Linked DNA regions of Homo sapiens: region 2 is linked to region 1. The links are contacts of gene promoters, found by promoter capture Hi-C in blood cells and fetal thymus (Javierre and others, 2016). All regions are on one chromosome and are shown on one strand. The core of a region is centred on a gene start or on the middle of the fragment in contact, and the rest is flanking DNA. Distances in the headings are between cores, read along the strand shown.

Evidence for each region. The method cuts DNA at HindIII sites, captures the fragments that hold promoters and counts their contacts. A CHiCAGO score of 5 or more calls a contact.
Region 2: a contact is called between the fragment with the promoter of CFAP410 here and the fragment with the promoter of PCBP3 in region 1, in 1 of 17 cell types (erythroblasts). The highest score is 7.1, in erythroblasts.

Annotation. Positions count from the first base shown.
Region 1 is chr21:45,642,076-45,647,218 of GRCh38, forward strand. It overlaps PCBP3 (poly(rC) binding protein 3), which reads left to right and starts at 1,650. Exons shown (of 18, transcript NM_001384156.1): 1 at 1,650-1,793. RefSeq lists silencers at 855-1,844, 2,165-2,304. The HindIII fragment of the contact is 8,393 bases long and covers 1-5,143 here.
Region 2 is chr21:44,337,891-44,342,391 of GRCh38, forward strand. It overlaps CFAP410 (cilia and flagella associated protein 410), which reads right to left and starts at 1,500. Exons shown (of 7, transcript NM_004928.3): 1 at 1,228-1,500. The coding sequence starts at 1,304. RefSeq lists silencers at 669-788, 1,089-1,458 and enhancers at 1,459-1,678, 3,541-4,183, 4,184-4,501. The HindIII fragment of the contact is 4,638 bases long and covers 315-4,501 here.

The sequences.
Region 1 (5,143 bases), core at 400-2,899:
ACCTCCAACCCCAGCTGACGGCCGCCCTGAGCCTGGCGTAGACGGCCCGGAACGTTCCCTGCGTGGGTTCCGTCCATCCCGAACCCCTGTCCCCGCGCCGGCTCCGGGGGTGCTCGGGGGGCCGCGTGGGGTCTGTGACGTCGCCTCGAGGCTGCATCCCGGTGACCCGGCAGCCCCTGGCGCTCGCGGGAGGCGGGCGGGCGCGGACCCCAGGCTTTAGGGCGCGATTCCTGCAGCTGGCTGCCGGCCCGAGGTTCTGGGGTGTCTGAGGTCTCGGGCGGGGCGAGGACGTTTCTCCGGCTCAGCCCCCCCACCTCCTGCCCTGCCGCCCCCCACACCCAGCTCCCCACGGACGCCAAGAGGCGCCTCCCACCCCGGCGAGGACCCGCGGGGAAACGGGGCCCAGGCGCGGCGACTGCGGAGGACGCGCCTCGGCCCCAGCGCCCTGGTCCTCGGGGCGTCCGGCTGCCCTTGCCCGAGGCCGGGGCGGGCGCTCAGCGCCGCGGAAGAAACGCCCGGGCGGGGACGCACAGCGAGGCGGGCTCCGCGGGAAGTACCGGGAAAACGGCGCGGAGCGGAACAGCCCGGAGCCAGCCCAGAGAAAGGGCGGCCTCCCCCTGCAGCCCCCGGGGCCCAGCAACGCCCCGCCCCAGGCCACGGCACGCGAACGCCGGGCGGGCGGAGGGGACAGGGCGGCGGGACCAGCGCGGGGCGGGCAGCGTCTGGGCACAGGCTCACGAGCCGCTCGGGGCCCCTGCCCGCCGGGCGCTGCGGCCCCAGCCTCCGGGCCGGGGCCAGGCCCACAGAGAACGGGAAGCGGGCGCTGCAGGGGGACCTTCGGGGTTGCGGCACGGCTGGGAATTCAACGGCCATTCCCGTCCCGTCGGGCCCACCCGCCCGCCCGCCAAATCCCCGCCCACCGCGGATCCGCCCCGTCCACCAAGGTCTCGCTCACCAACGGCCCGCCCCGCCCACCACAGGCCTGGCCCGCCCACGAAGGCTCGCCCCGCCCATCCACGGCCCTGCCCACCACAGGCCCGCCCCAAGCCTGGGCCCCGCCCCAGCAAGGGCACTAATCCCCTAACCCCCGAGCCCCGCCCACTGCTCTTGCCCTTCTCCCGCCCGCCCCGACTTAGGCCTCTCCCCGGCCTGGCCTCCCGTACTCAGCCCCGCCCCTGCCCCGCCCCCACCCCACCCCAAATGTGACCTGCCCCTCCCACTGCCCGTCCCCTCCCCGCTTCACTTCATTAGGCCCCCGCCCCGATTCTTGCCCCGCCCGCTCAATGTCCCGCCTACGACCCCGCCCACTACTAGTGACCGGCCCGCCCGTTCGAGGCCCCGCCTCCTCCCCGCCCAATGCTCGGCCCCGCCCCGCGCGTCATTGGGCCAGGTCCCCGCCCCGCCCCCAGCCCCACCCCCGCCCCTTTGACTGGAGTTGGCTTTTTCCAGAGAACTTTCCGGGCTCGGATTGGCCGCGCCGGTTGATGTTCCGCCCTTTCATTGGCCCGCGGCGCCCGCTTTCGCGAGCCTGCCCTTGGGCGGGGGCGGGGCCGGCGGCGGCGCGCGGCGCTAGATTGGTTAGCGGCGCAGAGGGGCGGGCCCGCGCCGCGCGCAGCGCTCGGGCTGGAGCGCCTGAAGCCGCGACCGCCGCCTCAGCCGCCTCAGCCGCGGTCGCCGCCGCTTCGGCTGACTTAGGCTCCGCCGCCGCCTCCTCACCCGCCTCGCCCCGACCCCGCCCGGGCCTCCCGGCCTCTCCCCGCCGGCCCGCGGGCTCGCCGTCCGGCGCAGGGCAGGTGAGTGAGCGGTGGCGGGCGGGGTCGGGGTCGGGCGCCCTTGCGGGTTACGGGGACCCAGTCCCCGACGGAGGCCGAGTGACGGGGCGACCCCGGGCCGCGGCAAACTTCGCCCGAGCCGGGGCGGGCGGGGGTCCCGGGCTGGGTCGCGCCGTCCCCGACCGCCGCCGGCGCCTGCGGCGGCCCGGGGCAGCGAGGGGACTCGCGCTCCCTCAAGGTGCGGTCGCCAGGCCTGGCCCGCCCGCCTCCGCCCCCTCCCCAAATTCGGAAGTTGCGGCGGGAAGCCGAGAACGTCTCGGATGTGGGTCAGAAAACGTCTGGACTACTTGAGGCTTCAGTTTCAAAACGGCACAAATTTCATCTCTTGATTGAGAAGAGATCTGGGGAACACCCCGGAGCGGCCGCGGCGGCTGGAGGGCGGCGGGGCGGGGCGCGGGGCCTCCTCCCCCTGGACGGCCGCCGGGAGAGCGCGGCCTCACCCCTCGGTGACCCTGCGGAGAGCCGCGCGCGGGCGGTGGGGCGCGCGCAGGTCTCTCTTGTTGCTCGCTGTGTTTTATTTTAATTTTGGGGGTGGTTAGAACGTGTTTCTTATTGTCCCCACACGTGTTCTAATTGGAAGTCTTGTTTCGTGAAAGAGTTTTTTTCTTTTTTTTGCCTGGTGATGTTTTCCAATTCCCTCCGCGCCACTCTGAAGTATATTACTGGCATAAGAAATTTGAAAGTTAACCAAAAGTCGGGTCCTAAATCTCGTGGCTCGGGGTTGGTTATCTTCCACCGTCCTTCAGAGCAGCCTGGATTTGCAGGTCTTGTTAGCCCTCCATGTGAGCCAGTAGCACTCTTAGTTGTTGAGTGTTTGTAGAGTGGGATTCGCCAGAAGGAATCTTGAGCAGCAGGGCCTTGCGGAGAGGCCTTTAGAGATTAGACTGGGCAACTTATAGACTCCCCCCATTTCAAAAATATTCCTCTGGCACAGGCCCTCACATATCCCTCTGAAATTGAACTCACTTTCAGGGGCAAACTGTTGCCCTTTTTCTTTTCTTTGGACTTTCTCAGATGTGGATCCCAAAGGAGTGTGCAAGGGTGCTTCCCTATTTAAGAGAACTAACTCCCAGTCCTCCTCATATTCAAGAATAATTCATCATCTTAAAGCGTGTCAGAGATACCTATTTTGGCCCCAAAAGGAGTGTTTGTAGAACAGTGGCACTCTAAAGGGATCATTTGCAAGATCTGAAAGGACCTAATTGATCATCACACGACAGAAGCAGAAATAGTTCTGGTGTTTTCAGGCTTGGAGATCTGTCAGAAAACATGGGGCCTTAAAACTAACAAGTGCAGTGACCGACTAACTGATGTCTCACTTTCGAGCAGTATTTTTTTTTTTTGCTTGTATGTAGATGCTGTTGTTTATACAGTGCAAGTTCATTACGAATGGTTTAGAACTTACGTAGCTTCACGTATTTTCTTAGTTGATAATATTATAAGGTTTTGAAAAAGTTTTGATGATAAATGGGGTCTTTATAACTGAAAAAAATGGACTCTGTCTAGAATTCAGGGCTTTTTGGCTGGCGTTGCCCCAGGTGCTGCTGATTAGTGGTGCTTTTGGACCTCAAAACATCACTTTCCCAGATATCTTTATAATGCTCATGGTGGGGGAAAACCCACACAGCTTTGTGGTTACGTTTTTAGCTATTTATGCGAAAAAGTTCAACATATAGTTGTATTTTGCTAGCTGTTTTGAAGAAGCTATTCTTTACCCTATTGTTCTGAGGAGGCTGACAGCATGCTGCATTTATAAATTTGAAAAAGCCTCACGAGCTTCTTGAACCAATCTAGCTATTCAGATTTGGATTCTGTGTATCAGTTTTGATTATTTCAGTTCCTGTGTCAATGGCAGAATCATTTCTATTTTTACAAAAGTCTCATGGCTTTATTGTAAAGGTGAACACTGAAACAGATTTTAGTAGATGTAAGTTGTGTATCCTCTCAGTGAAGAAGGCAGTGCTTTGGGCCATAACCAAGGAAAATACTTGCTCATGTATTGGAATTGCCCCAACTTAAACATTAGAATAAATGCTGTAGATTTTGGGGCAGCTCTGATGTCTCAGCTCTCATCCCTGGTGGCAGTGACTCAGAGGCAAGGCGTCATGGGCCCGCTGTCCATGGTGCTGAATCCGTGTCACCTGTTTCTCTCTCTCTCTCTCTCTCTCTCTCTCTTTCTCTCTCTCTCTCTCTCTCTCTCTGTGTGTGTGTGTGTGTGTGTGTGTGTGTGTGTGTGTGTTTTGGGGCAGGGGGAGCTCAAACTTCCTTTCCAGTGTACTTTAAAATTAATTTCAGAATTCATATTATTAAATAAAATTTGATCAGGGAAATTATGTTGAATGGGAGCGTGTCTTGAAAACACGCCATTTTATTCTTCTTTTTAAGGAGGATAATTATGCTACAACATTCAATTTCCTTTGCTTAGTCTTCACTGTCTCTCTAGGTGGGAGTTTTGTTGCTTGAGTATGGGCATCAAGTAACAAATCACTGACATTAAATGAAACCCTGTTTTCTTAACAACCATTCCTTTAAGAAAGTACCAGTTTGTTTTAGTTTGTTTTCTTTTGCTTATAACAGAATACCTGAAACTAGGTAATTTACAAAGCAAAGGAATTTATTTCTTATAGTCATGGAGGCTGAGAAGTCTAAGGTCCGGGGGCCAAAGCCACCAGCTCCACTCCCATGACAACCCACTAATCCATTAACCCATGAATGGATTAATCCATTTTATGAGGGCAGAGCCCTCTTGATCCAATCACCTCTTAAAGGTCCCACCTCTCAATACTGCTTCTGCATTGAGGATTACATTTCAGCATGAGTTTTGGAGGGGATATTCTAATCATAGCACCTTTATTACAATATAGACATACATCTGTAGGCATATATCTATGTAGGGGCAACTTGTTCCCAAAAGGGTTGACTCTAGCATGTTTTGCATTCTCCAGCATGTTGGTTCTCAGCCTTTCCTGGCGATGGGATCTGTTTATGTGTTGGGCTACTGAGTGGTTGCCAGGCATTCCTGTTGTGTTAGAGCTATATCTACTCTCTTTTCTCTAATATTGAGGACATCTTTGTAAATCATTTTACATGAATCTTTTCTTTCTCTTGAGGTTAATGTTGTCAGTTACTTTAGAATTGCCCCACAGGTTAGCAGTAAAAAAAAAACAAAAAAGATAGATGTCACTTGTGGTACAGAGATGTCACATGGTAGTAAGTTGTATATCAAGCTAAGCAGTGGATTGTTGAGGTGCTTTTTGTTATGATCATCTGAACTGATTCTGTGGCCCCATTTGTTGTACACTTAACCCAGG
Region 2 (4,501 bases), core at 250-2,749, 1.3 Mb before region 1:
TTTAGATAAGGAGCAGCAGGGTTGCTCCATTTGTAAGACACAAAAAGATGAACTCTTCCTCATGGTCCCTGAGTAGCAGAAGGTTCATTTCTCTCACTGACAGACATAAACAAGGGCGTCTTTATAAGAGGTCAAGTTCAAAGGGTGAACAGGCAACTTATGAAGCAAACTTTAAAAGCCTGAAACAGGGTTGTTGTTTCTCCCAGCTTAGTGGGAGTACTGACCACCCCATGCAAAACAAAGAAATGCATTATTGAAAGCAAATGACACGGGAATTGTAGCCAAAACACCAGATATGCCAGGGCAGAGAGAAAAGCTTTTTAATTAACAGGGAAGAGCTCACTCTGGGCAGTCTGCGGACACCCCTGGGAGGAAGCGTCTGCTCTCGCTGACCCCCACACCCGCCTGCACGGTGAGGCCAGTTGACACGGCGCGGTCACTCTGCTGAGTCCCCAGGGAACCCTGGAGATCTTGCAGGCCTCAACTCCAGGCTCCCTCTTCTGGAAGCTCCTGGTCTTCCTTGGCTCAGTGAGACTCAGCATTACCTGCCTTTCAGCCTGCCTGGGTCCCACCGCACCCACGTCCCTTCCTGTCACCTGCTAGGAGTACCCTGGGAACGGCCGCCCCCAGTACTGATTACCAACGTGTTTCCTGACTCAGTCCTGGAAAGCTCAGTTCTCTCTCCTATTCGACTTGGTCCCAGTGACTGCTGGCAACCCCAGACAACAGACCCAGCCCACAGGGCACCCGGGGCAAAGGCGGGCCGGGAAATGGGGGGGGGCCCAGGCGACCCCGACCCCCGGCCTCCTCCCCTCCCTCACCCGCGGCTCCTTCGCCGCCCTCGCCCCTGCCCCTCCCCCCTTCCACTCCGCCCCCGCCCCGCCCCGCCCCGGCTCCTCCCTCCGGCTCCGCCCTCGTCCCGCCCCGGCTCCTCCCTCCGGCTCCGCCCTCGTCCCGCCCCGGCTCCTCCCTCCGGCTCCGCCCTCGTCCCGCCCCGGCTCCTCCCTCCGGCTCCGCCCTCTCCCCGCCCCGGCTCCGCCCTCTCCCCGCCCCGGCTCCGCCCTCTCCCCGCCCCGGCTCCTCCCTCCGGCTCCGCCCTCGTCCCGCCCCGGCTCCTCCCTCCGGCTCCGCCCTCTCCCCGCCCCGGCTCCTCCCTCCGGCTCCGCCCTCGCCCCGCCCCGGCTCCTCCCCCCACCCCGGGGCGGCCGCGGCCAGGCCCCGCCTCACCAGCAGTTGAGCTTGCGCACGCTGTGCAGCTCCGAGGCCTTGGCCCGGGTCAGAACCATCTTCCGCGTCAGCTTCATGGCGGCCGCCCAGGCCCGACCGGCGGGCGCCCCCGGCCTCCTGATCCCGGGCGGGTGACGACTGCGCGGCGCGTGTCTCCAGGGGCGGGGCCCGCGTCGTCAGGGGCGGATCCTGAGCCGATTGGCGGCTCGGTGAGGAGAGCGGGGCGACGCGAGCCCGCTGGGGCCGCTTGGGCGCCGCTGACACGTTGGCTCTGCTCCTGCTCATGCGCGGCCTGGGGCGCCCTTCTCTGACGCGATTCTAACGCGACCCCGGAAGCGCGCAGCGAGCAGAGGGTGGGTGCAGGTGGCGGTCCCCGAGTCGGCCCAGTGAGGGCTGAACTGCTGCTCCCAGGAACCGAGCGGGGTGGGCTCGGTCCGACGCGCATCATGGCCGAGTGCCTAGGCCTGACTCTGAGCGCAGGCCTAGCGTGGATGGCATGGGCGCTACACAGCTCCAAGTTACGCGATTCAAACTCTTGGAATAAACCCAGGGCAGCCCTGGGGCTGTGTTGATTCCTTGTCTCCCTCCCTCCCAGCATTTACAGAAAAGACGCATTTATAGGAAAGACGCACGGGCAGGTCCAGCAGAGCCCTTACAAGCATTTCAACCTTTTAGAAATCAGATAAGACCCTCTAAACATCGTTACATGGGCCACAGTTACATTAAGACAGGCGTTCTGACGTTCTGAAACCGCCTTTGCAAAAAATTGTATCGGTGAGAGAAGGTTGGCCTTGAAGGAGATCTGGCCAACCCCCATCTTGCCTTTGGCCTTAAAACTGCCCTTAATTATTCCTGGATAAGCAAAGGTAACTTTGGGAGACATTTATAGTTTAAGTGATAGCAGCCCTTCCTCAAAACTAAACAGCCTTTGTAAAGCTAATGAGACCACTGAAACCGCCTTTGCAAAAATCATAACTGAAGAAATTATGACAGGGGAAGATCTCCTCACCCACCCCATCTTCCTGCTATCCTCTAAGCTGCTTTTGTTCATTCCTGGGTGTAGACCAGACTAGCCTTGGGAAGGAATTTAGTTTATAGATTAAACTGAAACAAAATTGATAATAGCCCTTTCCCAAAAAAACCCTTCTTGCCTGGGGACCAGTCTGCCTTTGTAGGACTAACAAATTAAGCTACGAGATTAAAAATTACAGTTTAGGGGCCATGCAACCTCTGGCGGCAAGAGTCTGAACCTCCCCAAATTGCTTCTGGGAATAACATCACTGTTGCAAAACTTAAGGTCAGTGCTTGAAATATTTTGTAGACCCTGCATTCAGATGCAGCAGATGACACCACCCAAACGGATAATCTGGCTCAACCATGTGTGTGATCCCACCCAGGGACAGAAGTCAGCCAGAACTCATTTTGACCCCCTATGATTTAATCTTCGACCTGACCAATCAGCACTCACCACTTTCTGAGCCCATACCCGCCAAATTATCCTTAAAAACACGGATCCCCGAATGCTTGGGGAGACTGATTTGAGTGATAATAAAACTCTGCTCTCCTGCACAGCCAGCTCTGTGTGTATTACTCTTTCTCCATTGCAATTCCGTTGCCTTGATAAATCGGTTCTGTCTAGGCAGTGGGCAAGGCGAACCCATTGGGCGGTTACACTACCAGCCTAGAAGGATAGAGGAGCATGAATTCCACTAAGATGCAGATGTAAACATTCGTCAGCCATTATTCTGGAGGTCACAAGATAAGCTACTTCCCCAATTACTCCTGCAGGTAACATCACTATTGTACCTTTGCAGGTTTCTTGCATGTCTCACACGGATGGATCCAGCTAAATGTCTTGCCAACAGCTCCTGTGGCCCCACCCAGAAGCCATGCAGCACAAAAGGACCAAAAGGACAGCTAGATTTCATCTCGCACCTAACCAATCAGCACTCCCCATGCCCTAGCCCCCTGTTCACCAAACTACCTTTGAACAACCCCTAACCCATGAGCCTTCAATTGTAACCGAGCAGCTTAGCAGCTGTGAATCCAAAATATCTGAGACAGGACTCAATCTGTTTAGAAAGTTTATTTTGTCAAGGTTAAGGACAAGCCCATGACACAGCCTCAGGAGGTCCTGATGACATGTGCCCTGGGTGGCTGGGGCACAGCTTGCTTTCATACATTTTTAGGGAGACATGAGACATCAATCAATATGTGTAAGATGGAAAAAGAAGAAAAAATATATGTATAAGATGTACATTAAGCCGGGCGCGGTGGCTCACGCCTATAATCCCAGTACTTTGGGAGGCTGAGGCAGGTGGATGGCCTGAGGTCAGGAGTTCGAGACCAGCCTGGCCAACATAGTGAAACCCTGTCTCTACTAAAAATACAAAAAATTAGCTGGGCGCGGTGGTGGGTTTCACTCGTGTCCATGTGAAGAGACCACCAAACAGGCTTTGTGTGAGCAATCAAGCTGTTTATTTCACCTGGGTGCAGGTGGGCTGAGTCTGAAAAGAGAGTCAGTGAAGGGAGATAAGGGTGGGGCCGTTTTATAGGATTTGGGTAGATAAAGGAAAATTATAGTCAAAGGGGGGTTGTTCTCTGGCGGGCAGAGTGGGAGTCACAAGGTGCTCAGTAGGGGAGCTTTTGAGCCAGGATGAGCCAGGAGAAGGAATTTCACAAGACAATGTTATCAGTTAAGGCAGGAACAGGCCATTTTCACTTCTTTTATGGTGGAATGTCATCAGTTAAGGCGAGAACCAGCCATCTGGATGTGTACGTGCAGGTCACAGGGGACATGGTGGCTTAGCTTGGGCTCAGAGGCCTGACAGTGGGCGCCTGTAATCCCAACTACTTTGGAGGCTGAGGCAGGAGAATCGCTTGAACCCGGGAGGCAGAGGTTGCAGTGAGCCGAGACTGTGCCATTGCACTCCAGTCTGCGCAACAAGAGCGAGACTCCGTCTTAAAAAAAAAAAAAAGATGTACATTAGTTCAGTCTGGAAAGGCAGGACACCTTGAAGGCCGGGTGGGGTTGTGGGGGTGGAGGGAGGCTTCCAGCTTCCAGGTCATCGGTGGATAAGAGACAAAAGATTGCATTCTTTTGAGTCCTTTCACTGAATACACAATTTGGTCTAGCTTAGTAAATCTGCATTTTTACATAAACAATAAGGCAGAGAAAGCAAACAGATAGGCATGTGTCTCCGGTGAGCAGGGGGATGACCTCCTGTCCCACACCTGTGAAGATCAGCTATCAGTTTACATTCCAGGGTGAAAT